Linked DNA regions of Homo sapiens: regions 1, 2 and 3 are each linked to region 4. Evidence: promoter capture Hi-C in human tissues and cell types (Jung and others, 2019). All regions are on one chromosome and are shown on one strand. The core of a region is centred on a gene start or on the middle of the fragment in contact, and the rest is flanking DNA. Distances in the headings are between cores, read along the strand shown. Region 1 holds the start of ZNF443 (zinc finger protein 443). Region 2 holds the start of ZNF799 (zinc finger protein 799). Region 3 holds the start of ZNF791 (zinc finger protein 791). Region 4 has its middle 4.6 kb from the start of ZNF69.

The links. Contacts are between HindIII fragments. The study calls those that stand out against the background at their distance.
Region 1: the fragment with the promoter of ZNF443 here is called in contact with a fragment that was not itself captured in region 4 in 2 of the 25 tissues and cell types used here (IMR-90 fibroblasts and dorsolateral prefrontal cortex).
Region 2: the fragment with the promoter of ZNF799 here is called in contact with a fragment that was not itself captured in region 4 in 5 of the 25 tissues and cell types used here (H1 embryonic stem cells, dorsolateral prefrontal cortex, liver and 2 more).
Region 3: a contact is called between the fragment with the promoter of ZNF791 here and a fragment that was not itself captured in region 4, in 2 of the 25 tissues and cell types used here (dorsolateral prefrontal cortex and heart right ventricle).

The regions. Positions count from the first base shown.
Region 1 is chr19:12,439,584-12,443,180 of GRCh38, reverse strand. ZNF443 (zinc finger protein 443) reads left to right here and starts at 2,160. Exons shown (of 4, transcript NM_005815.5): 1 at 2,160-2,269. The coding sequence starts at 2,267. RefSeq lists an enhancer at 1,712-1,981 and a silencer at 2,392-2,481. The HindIII fragment of the contact is 16,773 bases long and covers 1-3,597 here.
Region 2 is chr19:12,399,637-12,403,151 of GRCh38, reverse strand. It overlaps ZNF799 (zinc finger protein 799), which reads left to right and starts at 1,881. Exons shown (of 4, transcript NM_001080821.3): 1 at 1,881-2,084. The coding sequence starts at 2,082. RefSeq lists enhancers at 1,727-1,776, 2,497-2,586 and a silencer at 2,107-2,266. The HindIII fragment of the contact is 18,323 bases long and covers 1-3,515 here.
Region 3 is chr19:12,608,595-12,612,234 of GRCh38, reverse strand. It overlaps ZNF791 (zinc finger protein 791), which reads right to left and starts at 1,315. Exons shown (of 4, transcript NM_153358.3): 1 at 1,153-1,315. The coding sequence starts at 1,155. It overlaps ZNF490 (zinc finger protein 490), which reads left to right and starts at 1,422. Exons shown (of 5, transcript NM_020714.3): 1 at 1,422-1,671; 2 at 3,033-3,077. The coding sequence starts at 1,555. RefSeq lists enhancers at 1,144-1,203, 1,534-1,753 and a silencer at 1,344-1,403. The HindIII fragment of the contact is 50,335 bases long and covers 1-3,640 here.
Region 4 is chr19:11,881,626-11,884,799 of GRCh38, reverse strand. No RefSeq gene overlaps it. Among named protein-coding and RNA genes, the nearest start is that of ZNF69, 4.6 kb to the left of the region's middle. The HindIII fragment of the contact is 6,745 bases long and covers 1-3,174 here.

The DNA.
Region 1 (3,597 bases), core at 911-3,410, 560 kb before region 4:
GTTGGTTTTTTGAAAAGACAAACAAAATTGACAAACCTTGAGGTAGACTAAGAAAAAACCAGGCCCAAATAAATACAATTAGAGGTGAAAAAGGAGACATTACAGTTGATACTGCAGAAATTCAAAGGATCATTAATGCAACTAAGAACAACTATATGCCAATAAACTGGAAAACCTAGAAGAAACTGATAAATTCCTAGGCAGATAGAACATAGCAACATTGAACCATGAAGAAATAAAAAACCTGAACAGACCAATAACAAATAATGAGATCAAAGCCATAATAAAAAGTCTCCTAGCAAAGAAAACCCCAGAACCCAGTGGCTCCACTGCTGAATTCTACCAACATTTAAAAAAGAACTAATACCAATCTTACTCAAACTATTCCAAAAAACAGAGGAGAAGGCAATACTTCCAAATTTATTTTACAAAGCCAATATTACTTTGACACCAAAACCAGACAAAGACATGTCAGAAAAAGAAAACTATAGGCCAGTGTCACTGATGAATATTGATGCAAAAATCCTCAACTCAATACTAGCAAACTGAATTTAACAATACACCAAAAAGATCATTCATCATGACCAAGTGGGCTTTATCCCTGGGATGCAAGGATGGTTCAATATATGCAAATCAATCAATGTGATGTATCATTTCAACAGAATAAAGGGCAAACACCATATAATCATTTCAATGTGCACTGAAAAAGCTTTTGATAATATTTAACATCCCTTCATGATAAAAACCCTAAAAAAAAGTGGGTAAAGAAGGAGCATACCTTAACATAATAAAAGCTATATATGGCAGACCCACAGCTAGCATGATAATGAATGGGGAAAAACTGAAAGCCCTTCCTGTAAGATCTGGAACACAATAAGAATGCCCACTTTTACCACTGTTGTTCAACACAGTACTTGAAGTCCCAGCTAGAGCAATAAGACAAAAAAAAAAAAAAGAAAAAAAAAGAAATAAAGGGCATCCATATTGGGAAGGAAGAAGTCAAATTATCCTTGTTTGCATATAATATGATCTTATATCTGGAAATACCTAAAGACTCCACCAAAAAAGTATTAGAACTGAGAAATAAATTCAGTAAAGTTGCAGTATACAATATCAACACACAAAAATCAATAACATTTTTATATGCCAACAGTGAACAATCTGAAGCTACTTGAGAGGCTGAGGTGGGAGGATTGCTTGAGCTTAGGAGGTAGAGGTTGCAGTGAGCCATGATGGCCCCACTGCACTCCAGCCTAGGTAACAGAGCAAGACCCCATCTCAAACAACCAAAAATGTGTAGAAGGATGGTTACCAGAGGCTGCGAAAAGTAGTAGCGAGGAGTAGTTATGGGGGAAGTGGGGATGGTTAATAGGTATAAAAAATAGTTACAAAGAATGAATAAGACCTAGTATTTGCTAGCACAACAGAGTGACTATAGTAAAAAATAATTTAATTGTACATTGAAAAATCTTGAAAAATTTCATTGAAAAAGAGCATAATTGGAGCCAGGCGCAGTTGCTCACGCCTCTAATCCCAGAACTTTGGGAGGCCAAGGTAGGCGGATCACGAGGTCACGAGTTTGAGACCAGCCTGGCCAACATGGTGAAACCCAGCCTCTACTGAAAAATACAAAAATTAGCCGGGTGGTGGCGCGTGCCTGTAATCCTAGCTACTCGGGAGGCTGAGGCAGGAGAATTGCTTGAACCCACCCAGGAGGCGAAGGTTGCAGTGAGCCTCGCACCATTGCACTCTAGCCTGGGCGACAGAGCAAGACTCCCTCTCGAGGAAAAAAAAAAAAAAAGATATAATTAGTTTGTCAGTCCGTGTCCAGGAGGAAGAAGCAGGAGGTCCTATTGAGTACGGGCAGGAAATTCCGCTTAAGTGCAAATATAACCCGGGAGGATTCAGATCAAAGAGCAGGGAGGAAGCCCCCCCTGCCAAGGGCTGTGTCAGGAACTTGCTCATCCGGCTCCACTCAGCTGTGCAAGATCGCTTCTTCTGTCAATCAGCCCTCAGGGGGCGGGACCTGACGCCCTATCCAATCAGGGGCGTGGGGCGGGTTCGTGGGAACTGTCAATCAGGCACTGCCCAGAGAAGTGTGTGTGGTTGAAAAAGCCCGCGGCGTCTGCTCCACCCACCTGCGCTCGGCTCTGGGTTCTGTAGCTGAGAGACGACCTGGAAGTTCTGAGGCAGCCTTTGTCTGGCTGGAACACGCATTGGCAGCGGGAGCTGTCGGTAGGACCTGGGACACCGCGGAAGTCGGGAAATGGTGCGTGTGCTGGGCCGGCGTCCCGAGGCGGGGGAGGGGTTAGGTGGAACCGGCCGTAATCGGCTGTGGCTGGACCCGGGCCTCCCCAAGGGCGACTTCGGGATCTACGGACCCGGGTCCCCCTGGCGTAGGTCGGCCCTCGGCCGCAGGGTGGGGCTGGGCATGCAGCCGGGACCCCGGGCGTCCTGTCCCGTTCCTGCGCGGCGACTGCGGCCCCGGCGCCCTCTCTGGGCAGCTCCGAGCCCGCAGCCCCGGGTCTCCCCAGATTGTGCGGCTGTAACCAACACAGGTTCGCGGCCCGACTCACTGCACCGAGACGCCGAGGGCTGCAGCAGAAACGGTTTAACAGGAGGAGAGGGGAGGACACCCCAGATCCGCCTCCCTGAGGGATTTGGGGTCTGGACGGGGGCGGCTGGGTGTAGCGTCCTTGGTTGGTGGGGAAGTGAGGGGTGAATCCTGGGACAGGAGGTGAAGAAACCGCATTCTGCTGAGAGGGCTCCCTCGTGGGGTCTTCAACCTGGTTGGCGCCAGCCTTTCTGCTGGGATTCAGGATCTGAGAACTCCGGCGACTCTTGAGCAGCACTCGGAGATCTTATCCCCAGGCACAATGGGGAAGCCGGCGGTCAGCGTCTGCTGTGACCTGACTCTCAGGGAGGCGGCCCCTTGAGGCAGCGGGGCTGAGGGCACCTGTTTAATATCTAACTGCAATCTCGCCTCCAGCCTGGCTCGCAGTTCCTGTGAACCCGGTGAGGAGGCTGCACGGTGACGACGAGTCACCAGGTGGAATCCAGACTCGTGTGTGGGGTTTGTGTGTGGGAGGAGCTGTGGTTTCCGTGGTCCTCAGTCCTTTCTTCCTTTCCAAGGGCGACCGTTTCCCCTCTGAGTCTTCCAAAGACGTGGGCAGCAGGGTCTCAAATCCACCACTGTGTTCTCTCATCCTGACTCTTCCTAGGGCTGGCAGCAAATCTCTTGGTTTCCAGAGACTTCCCCAGGCTAACCTTCTGTCCTTAATTCACAGCAACAGTATGAACTGTTTGGCCCCAGGCGATATTTCACTAGTTTGTCATCTTGTTTTCAGCTAGCAATGTATGGCTTTTTCTTGAAAGAATTGTTTTGGGTTCCTGAACACGGTGGGTCATTCCTGTAATTCCAGCACCTTGGGAGGCTAAGGCAGAGGTATTGCTTGATCCCAGTAGTTCCAGACCAGCCTGGGCAACATGGCAAGACTTTGTCTCTAGTGTAAATGATAATAATAAAATTAGCTGGGCTTGGTAGCTGGCACCTGTAGTCGCAGCTACTCCTGAGGCTGAGGTGGGATGATGGCTGGA
Region 2 (3,515 bases), core at 632-3,131, 520 kb before region 4:
GAACCATGAAGAAATAAAAAACCTGAACAGACCAATAACAAATAATGAGATCAAAGCCATAATAAAAAGTCTGCTAGCAAAGAAAACCCCAGAACCCAGTGGCTTCACTGCTGAATTCTACTAACATTTAAAAAAGAACTAATACCAATCCTACTCAAACTATTCCAAAACAGAGGAGAAGGCAATACTTCCAAACTTATTTTACAAAGCCAATATTACTTTGACACCAAAACCAGACAAAGACATGTCAGAAAAAGAAAACTATAGGCCAGTGTCACTGATGAATATTGATGCAAAAATCCTCAACTCAATACTAGCAAACTGAATTTAACAATACACCAAAAAGATCATTCATCATGACCAAGTGGGCTTTATCCCTGGGATGCAAGGATGGTTCAATATATGCAAATCAATCAATGTGATGTATCATTTCAACAGAATAAAGGGCAAACACCATATAATCATTTCAATGTGCACTGAAAAAGCTTTTGATAATATTTAACATCCCTTCATGATAAAAACCCTAAAAAAAAACTGGGTATAGAAGCAGCTACCTTAACATAATAAAAGCCATATATGGCAGACCCACAGCTAGCATGATAATGAATGAGGAAAAACTGAAAGCCTTTCCTGTAAGATCTGGAACACAATAAGAATGCCCACTTTTACCACTGTTGTTCAGCACAGTACTCGAAGTCCCAGCTAGAGCAATAAGTCCAAAAAAAAAAAAAAAAAGAAATAAAGGGCATCTATATTGGGAAGGAAAGGAAGAAGTCAAATTATCCTGGTTTGCATATAATATGATCTTATATCTGGAAATACCTAAAGACTCCACCAAAAAAGTATTAGAACTGAGAAATAAATTCAGTAAAGTTGCAGGATACAATATTAACATACAAAAATCAGTAACATTTTTATATGCCAACAGTGAACAATCTGAAGCTACTTGAGAGGCTGAGGTGGGAGGATTGCTTGAGCTTGGGAGGTAGAGGTTGCAGTGAGCCATGATGGCCCCACTGCACTCCAGCCTAGGCAACAGAGCAAGACCCCATCTCAAACAACCAAAAACGTGTAGAAGGATGGTTACCACAGGCTGGGAAAAGTAGTAGCGAGGAGTAGTTATGGGGGAAGTGGGGATGGTTAATAGGTATAAAAAATAGTTACAAAGAATGAATAAGACCTAGTATTTGCTAGCACAACAGAGTGACTATAGTAAAAAATAATTTAATTGTACATTGAAATATTTTGAAAAATTTCATTGAAAAAGAGTATAATTGGAGCCAGGCGCGATGGCTCACGTCTCTAATCCCAGAACTTTGGGAGGCCAAGGTGGGCGGATCACGAGGTCAGGAGTTCGAGACCAGCCTGGCCAACATGGTGAAACCCGGCCTCTACTAAAACATACAAAAATTAGCCGGGTGTGGTGGCGCGCACCTGTAATCCCAGCTACTCGGGAGGCTGAGGCAGAATTGTTTGAACCCACCTAGGAGGCGGAGGTCGCAGTGAGCCTCGCACCATTGCACTCTAGCCTGAGCCACGGAGCAAGACTCCCTCTCTCTCTCTCTCTCTCTCTCTCTCTCTCGGAAAAAAAAAAAAAAAAAAAAAAAAAAGTATAATTGTTTTGTCAGTCAGTGTACAGGAGGAAGAAGCAGGAGGTCCTATTGAGTACAGGCAGGAAATTCCGCTTAAGTGCAAATATCCCTCGGGAGGATTCAGATCAAAGAGCAGGGAGGAAGCCCGCCCTGCCAAGGGCTGTGTCAGGAACTTGCTCATCTGGCTCCACTCAGCTGTGCAAGATCGCTTCTTCTGTCAATCAGTCCACGAGGGGCGGCACCTGACGCCGTATCCAGTAAGGGCCGTGGGGCGGGTTCGTGGGAACTGTCAATCAGGCGCGCTTCCCAGAGGAGTGTGTGGTTGAAAAAGCCCGCGGCGTCTTCTCCACCCACCTGCGCTGGGCGCTCGGTGCTCGGCTCTGTAGCTAAGAGACGACCTGGAAGTTCCGTGGCAGCCTGTGTCCCGCGGGAACCCGCATTGGCAGCGGGAGCCGTCCGGAGGACCTGGGACACCGCGGAAGTCGGGAAATGGTGCGTGTGCTGGGCCGGCGTCCCGAGGCGGGGGAGGGGCTGGGTGGAACCTGCAGTAATCGGCTGTGGCTGGACCCGGGCCTCCCCAAGGGCTACTCCGGGATCTACGGACCCGGGTTCCCCTGGCGTAGGTCGGCCCTCGGCCGCAGGGTGGGGCTGGGCATGCAGCCGGGACCCCGGGCGTCCTGTCCCGTTCCTGCGCGGCGACTGCGGCCCCGGCGCCCTCTCTGGGCAGCTCCGCGCCCGCAGCCTCGCGTCTCCCGAGATTGTGCGGCTGTAAGCAACACAGGTTCGCGGCCCGACTCACTGCACCGAGACGCTGAGGGCTGCAGCAGAAACAGTTTAATAGCCAGAGAGGGGAGGACACCCCAGATCCGCCTCCCTGAGGGATTTGGGGTCTGGACGGGGGCGGCTGGGTGTAGGGTCGTTGGTTGGTGGGGAAGTGAGGGGTGAATCCTGGGACAGGAGGTGAAGAAACCGCATTCTGCTGAATGGGCTCCCTCGTTGGGACTTCAACCTGATTGGCGCCAGCCTTTGCTGGGATTCAGGATCTGAGAACTCCGGCGACTCTTGAGCAGTTCTCAGAGATCTTATCCCCAGGCACAATGGGGAAGCCGGCGGTCAGCGTCTGCTGTGACCTGACTCTCAGGGAGGCGGCCCCTTGAGGCAGCGGGGCTGAGGGCACCTGGTTAATATCTAACTGCAATCTCGCCTCCAGCCTGGCTCGCAGTTCCTGTGAACCCGGTGAGGAGGCTGCACGGTGACGACGAGTCACCAGGTGGAATCCAGACTCGTGTGTGGGGTTTGTGTGTGGGAGGAGCTGTGGTCTCCGTGGTCCTCAGTCCCTTCTTTCTTTCCAAGGGCGACCGTTTCCCCTCTGAGTCTTCCAAAGATGTGGTTAGCAGGGTCTCAAATCCACCACTGTGTTCTCTCATCCTGACTCCTCCTAGGGCTGGCAGCAAATCTCTTGGTTTCCAGAGACTTCCCCAGGCTAACCTTCTGTCCTTAATTCACAGCAACGGTATGAACTGTTTGGCCCCCAGGCGATATTTCACTAGTTTGTCATCTTGTTTTCAGCTAGCAATGTATGGCTTTTTCTTGAAAGAATTATTTTGGGTTCCTGAACACGGTGGGTCATTCCTGTAATTCCAGCACCTTGGGAGGCTAAGGCAGAGGTATTGCTTAATCTTAGTAGTTCCAGACCAGCCTGGGCAACATGGCAAGACCTTGTCTCTAGTATAAATGATAATAATAAAATTAGCTGGGCTTGGTAGCTGGCACCTGTAGTCGCAGCTACTCCTGAGGCTGAGGTGGGATGATGGCTGGAGCCCAGGAGTTTGAAGTTGCAGTGAGCTATGATCGTGCCTCTGCATCCCAGCCTAGGCAACAGAGGCCGACCCTGTCTCAAAAAAAAAAAAAAAAAAGGGTGTC
Region 3 (3,640 bases), core at 66-2,565, 730 kb before region 4:
AGACCCCATCTGTTAAAAAAAAAAAAAAGAAAATAATAATGTCAGTTAATTATTTCCATGGCAATAAATAGTTTACAAAAGTATTACTTCTATCTGAATGCTTCTAGATGTTGCAAGTTTAAGTCCTGGAATACCATCTGAAACATCAAACTAAAAGAACAGACCTGAGAAACATATTCCATGTGCTCAGGGAAAGAACAAAGAATTTTTAACAAATGTAATATTGGGATGTTTTTTGTTTTCTGAGATTCATTTCTTTTTTGCCCTTTGGAAATATTTTGTACTGTCTCTCAAGTTCTTCTGATAACATATATTTTATATTTATTGGAAAAATGACATTCGAGTGAATAAATCTTTTCAAGGTCATAAACCCAAGGCGGGACAGTGCCAATCTGAAACTGTGCTGAAAAGATAGATTACCCAGGAAAGTTTACAAAAAGGAACCTCAACGCAAAGGAGTTCCCATAGGATGTCTGTGCCCTGGAAAGGTACCAGGATGAGGGCCACAGCATTTTATGCAGATTAGTTCCAAGTGAATAATTTTTCTGATTTTTCTCTGATGTAAAATATCCACAAACAAGAAATAAATCGTTTAAAAGAGGCATCTATTGGAAAAAAGATTATTAAAATACTGCGTGTGTTTGAAATGCACCACACAGGACAAAGAGTTGGTGACGATGTTTTCCACTGGCGAGCGGAAGTAGGCGTTTGGGAATTCGGGGAGGGATCCGGAAATCTAGGGATTAATGGCCCGCCGTGGGAGGAGCTAGGCTGGGGGGACAGGGTAGTGGATTTGAGACTCTGCTTCCAACATCTTTGGAAGACTCAGGGGGAAACAGCCTTTGGGAAGAAAGAAGGGACTGGGAACCCCAGACTGTAGCTCCTCCCACACAAACCAAACACACAAGGCGGGATTCTCCCCAGGACCCTCCCGTGGTCCCTGCACGATCTGGGAAAGACGCGGGGCTGCGGGCGCGGAGTTGTCCAGAGAGGGCTCCGGGGCTGGGACCGCAGTCGCCGCGCAGGGACGGGACAGGACGCTTGGAGTTCCAGCTGCCAGCCCAGCCCCACACTGCGGCCGGAGGTGACCGTGGGGAGGCCCGGGTCCCGCGATCACGGCCGGTTCCAACTAGTCCGGCCCTGCACACTCACCATTTTCCGGCCTCGCGGGTGTCCCGGTGTTGTCCCTAAGGTTCACGGAGCCAGCGCAGGGTACAGCGCATCCGATGCAGGGGTACAGCAACCTGACGCGTCAAGGGGCCAGGAGACCCCAAGCTAAGCACAACCCGATCGCACAGTGACGTAGCACGCATTTGCGCAGCGTAGCCGTACCCTCCTTTCCGGCGCCGCCCCTGATTGGACAATTATACAGCCCCGCCCCTTTTTGTCCGAATGACAGCTAGGCAGCAGGTCTAGTAGCTAGGCAGATCTCGCTTCCGCCGGTGGGACGGAACTGGTGCCCTCCGTGGACAATTGTGTTGAAGCAGAAATTGTTCCGGATCTCGGGTCGGACACGGAAGTCTTCCTGCAGTGTTTCTGGATGCGGGGACAGGGATGCGCAGGAATTCCAGTCTCAGTTTCCAGATGGAGCGACCCCTCGAGGAGCAAGTCCAGAGCAAGTGGTCGTCTAGTCAAGGCCGCACAGGAACAGGAGGGTCTGATGTCCTCCAGGTACCAGGGGCTTGGCATAATGTTGTAAGGCCTCTCGTGGAATAGTGACCCTTGTTTATAAACAGACGGTTACCCCATCATGTGTAATAAAAAGTGTGGTTGCATTTTAATCTTTGACCATAACAGCGTTGAGGCGTCCACCTTTCTTTTCCCCACCTCCACACATTTGGCACTTTAGAAAAGGAACCCCAAGGCAGGGCTTGGTGGCGCACACCCGTAGTCCCAGCTACTGCGTGGTGGGGGCGGTGGGGGAGGTCGGGGGGTGGGTGGGCTGAGGCGGGTGGATCGCTTGACTCCAGGAGTTTGAGTTCAGTCTGGGCAACATGGCCAGAACCCATCCCAAGAAAAAAAAAAAAAGGAAAGAAAGAAAAAACAATCCGTAGGACACCCGAGCACTTGGCTCGGGTGGTAAATTGCAACCCTAACCTGGGCACAGGGACTCTTCAGACCAATCACGATCTATGAGACGTGCTCAGTAAACTGCGTTTTACTCTGGAAGGAAATGGTTTGTTTTCGTTGTTTTTTTGTTTGTTTGTTTTTAGTTTAAGCATGTTTTTATTGCTTTTCATTTTTATTTTTATTTTTGTAGATTTATGGTTACAAATGCACTTGTGTTACGTGGATATATTTCATAGTGGCGAAGTCTGGCTTTTAGTGCACCCATCACCCAAAGAGTGTATATTGTACCCAATAGGTAATATTTCATCCCTCATCCCCCCTCTCTGTCCAACCTATTGGCATCTCCAGTGTCTATTATTCCATTCTGTATGTCCATGTTTACCCATTGTTTAGCTCCCACTTATATGTAAGAAGATGCAGTTTTTGACTTTCTGTTTTTGCATCATCGCACTTAGGATAATGGCCTCCAGTTCCATCCGTGTTGCTGTAAAGTGGAAGGAAATTTATCTCAAATAAGTTTTCTAAAGTGTCCCTACAGAACTTGGAAAGACCAAGAGCCCAAAACCAGCCTGGGCAACATAGCGAGACCCCATTTCTCAAAAAATTTTTAAAAATTAGCTGGGTATGGTGTTCACCTGTAGTCCTAGCTCCTTCGGAGGCTGAGGCAGAAGGATCTCAAGGCTAAGAGTTTGAGGTTACAGTGAGCCAAGATTGTGCCACTGCATTCCAGCCTGGGAGAGAGAGAGACTGTCTCTAAATTTTTTTTTTAAAGTAGAAACATATTTCATTTTTCCCATTATAGAGGAGACAGTGTAATCTTGAAAACTCCCATGATCCACCCTTCTGGTAGCTCTGTGTGTACAGGTAGATGCAGGGGGAACAATGCTTCCAAGGCTGTCAAAGGTCATGTTTAGTTCTAAATTGCTGAAACTCACAAAATGCATCCTCTTGTTTCTAATTAGATGCAGAACAGTGAACACCATGGACAAAGCATCAAGACTCAAACTGTAAGTGAGATCGCTACCTGTCAGCGTGGCTACCTTCCTTGTTTATAATGACCATTTGGGTCTGTCCTTCTATGACCTCTTTGTGGGGGGGTCTTTCGGGTCTTTGTGAAGGCACTCCCATAGTCAAGGCCAATAACCAGGCTCTCAGGTATGTCCTGTTCATTGCCCTCACCCTGTACTTCCATTGTCCCTTACCTTCATTGGCCATCCCAACACAGCCACCTGCATCCTTTGGAATATCACATTTGGGCTGGGTGCAGTGGCTCATGCCTGTAATCCTGGCACTTTGGGAGACTGAGGTAGGAGGATTGCTTGAGTTCAGGAGTTTGAGACCAGTGTGGGCAATGTAGTGAGACTCTGTCTCTACAAAAAATAAAAAAAATGGCTGGGTGTAGTAGCTCATGCCTGTAATCTCAGCACTTTGGGAGGCAAGGTGGGTGGATCACTTGAGGCCAGGAGTTGGTTTCCAACCTGGCCAACATGCTGAAACCTCATCTCTATTAAAAATATTTTTTAAGTTAGCTGGGCATGGTGGGAGGCACACCTGTAATCTCAGCTACTTG
Region 4 (3,174 bases), core at 344-2,843:
GACTAAGGGCAGACTGATGGGTAAGTTTTTGGAAGGGCTTAAGCTTATTGCATCTTGTTAAGCTTCTAAGGAACGCCAGATTCTCCCCTCGTCGTGAGAGACATGAGGTGAAATTGACGTCAGGAGAAGGAAGCTGAATGGCCTTTGGGGGCTGGCCTGCAGGTTGTTGGACTTCGGGATATAGCAGAGAGAGAGCTTGGCATGATTTGTTGCCCCAGGCTGTGGAATTTTGGAAAAGAGCTACCATACAGCCTATGCCTGGTCGGCTGAAGGGCTATCCTAGTGGAAAGGAAACAGTCTGGGCCTCTAGTCTGCCATGCATACAAGCGTAACAATTGCTTTTGTTCAATGTGCGGACGGAATATTGAATCCATTCCAACCAGGTATTTACATCTTGATATCCTGTTTTAATTGCTAGGGTTTGTCTTAAATCTTTTACTTCTACAATATTTACTTTAGTAGTATCATTAGGTAGAAAACAGGTGGCAGTCTGATTAGAAGAAAGCTTAGAAGGAGAAGAGAAGGAAGGGGGTGAAGAGAATGAAGGATTAATAAAACGCATTTCGAAAGATCTTATGAGGTCTGTGCTGGCCAAGTTGGCTCCTGTTCCATAGAAGTGACTTAAAGTAGGTTTAGGGTCAGTAGAGGTGGAAATTTGTATGGGATTACATTGATTATACTGGCAATTGGGGAGGTGCTTTTTTTAGTGAAATGAATGTATGGTTTTAAGGATATACAGCCACCTGCTGATGAGGTCTAGCCTTGACATTTGGTTGTCCATAGGACATCATTCTAGCTATGACAGACTTGTTTTCTTATATTTGTTAAGGAACAAGAGTCTTGGTAGGGGGGGCCTTTCACCTTAAAGGGGCAGAGATACTTTTCTGAGGCTGAGACTTGTCTTTGACTTTGGAGATCTTTACAGGGTATGACTAGACATAGCATTAAACGTGATAACTTGGGGTGAGTTTGATTGAGTTACATTAATGACAAGGTGGTCAGCATTGGAAGGGGAAAAGAAGAAAGAGTAATAGAATAGATGTAAGAGGTTAAATTTTTCTTAGCTTTAGTTTGAGGGGGTTTTCCCCTGGAATAATGGCCTACGACTTTGGGGGTGGCGGTGCTTTCTTGACTCGGGTGTGATGGGTCTATCCTTTCTCTGCTGTCCAGACTGCAGTTTCAATGGTGGGAAGTACTAGGCCAGCTCCTCAGGCCGGTGTTGACGCACTGGGAACTCCAGGAGCCGCACCTGTACTGGAAAATTGTGAGTTTTGAGGGAAGAGAAAGTGGAAGATAAACCAAGTATGTAGGAATGTTGGCAGTGGATTGCTTTGAGAGGTAGTTTGGATTAATAGGAAGACAGAAGACATTTGAGTTATGGCAACTAAGTTTCTAGACTTGTTTGGCTAAGGATGTACATTTTCATACACATATAAACTTTAACTGTGCTATACATAGCTTGAGGTCTTTAATGGGTCCTCTAATTTAGGTGGGATAGGACTTCTTTCATAAGAGGTTTAAATAACATTTGAATTCCCTTCAGTGCCTACAGGAGAAACGGCAGCTGGTTCGGATTATCTGATTTGCTAGGTTATTTTCTTAACTCTTGAAAGATAGGATTTTTGGTGCCTGGGGACGTGGAAAATAGCTTTTTTTTTTTTTCTGGTAACTGAAGGTTATTTAACACTTGGGTTATTAACTCTTCATGAACAAGGCTTTGACCTTTATTATTGTCTGAAATTTTCTAAATGTATGAGCCACGATAAAGGTGTATTTAGAATCAATATAGATTAGTATAGATGGTTCCTTTGCAGTTACTTTAAAGCTTGACTAAGTGCAAACAGCTTACAAATTTGGGTAAACTATTAAACAATTTTTAAATTTTATTTCTCTAGGAACTTCTCTATTTATTATTGAACATCTGTTGAATCCTTTTTCCTTTAATCATTTTTGAAGGGGGTTTCTCTTAAGTTTGGCCGGACATTTGTATGGTAATCAGTTAAATCTAAACATGTGTGCTTCCTTTTTAGATTTGGATCTTTCGTTAAGAAACTTGTTAGGTTAAGCAAATTACTAGTAACATTAAACTATCATTTTTAACAGAATAGCCTCATATTTATACACATGTAATTCTTTTTTGGTGGTACATTTTAACATAGGTGACTTTAAAGAATCAGAGTTCTTTTCTGGTGGATATTTTCACTTTTAACACTGGCCTGACTATAATAAATGCTAGTGGATATATCCGCTGAAAGATTATCTACTTCTTGCTCAGGAAACTTAGCTGCGGGGATGCCAGGCTGCTTGGAGCCATCGCTGAAGCCCCGTATTACTTAGCCTCAGCAAAGTAAGGCAGATATCCTATAATGTAGTTTGCATGGGGCATAGGCTGGGGCCTGGCTCGCATGTCATGCAGAGCTGCCGTCAATACAGTGCCAGGACCTTGGACCAGCCAGTGGGCAGGAGCATGGGCTTTGCCGCTGCAGGGGTGCACTATGGGCCAGACAACGCTGACAACATGTTGCGGCAGATCCTTCATGTTGCTAGCCTGGCAAAAGCCATCTGGTGAATTAGGAGCTTGGAGTTCTTTAGGGGAGAGGGACTTAGGCTGGGGAAGAACAGACTTACTGGGCGATGCCTGAGGGGAAGGGTTGGGTATTAGGTGGGGAATGGTCTAGGGGATCTTGCGAGTTGTTCTTTTTGCTAGGATCCCCCAAGCCCCTTCCTTCACTGTCTTTTTCATTAAAGATGGTTCTATCTTAATAGGGCACATGTACAACTCATTTTCCTCCAAATATTAGTTTTTGACTTGCTCCTTTCAATCCTTGGAGGAGGGGAAAGGACAACTCCTTGCAACTAACATAGGGCATAATTTGTTTCTTCTCAGGAGGCAGGTCTTCTACTAGCAACATTTTCTATTAGAAGTTCACAAATCCATCCCTCATTCGACTTAAATTCTGGCCAGAAAACTAAGGGTTCAAGGATTCGTTCTTGAGTCTAAATGGAACAGCAATATTTTATCACTAATTGCTTTTTCTTATGTTTAGTCTTTTCATTATCTTTCTAATGTTTTAACATGAGACCTAGGGGACTATTAGGGGGGATATCTTTGTTGCTAACTTTGTCTTTTTTGCTTGTAATATTTCCTATACTGGGTCCTGGCTAGGCTCAATC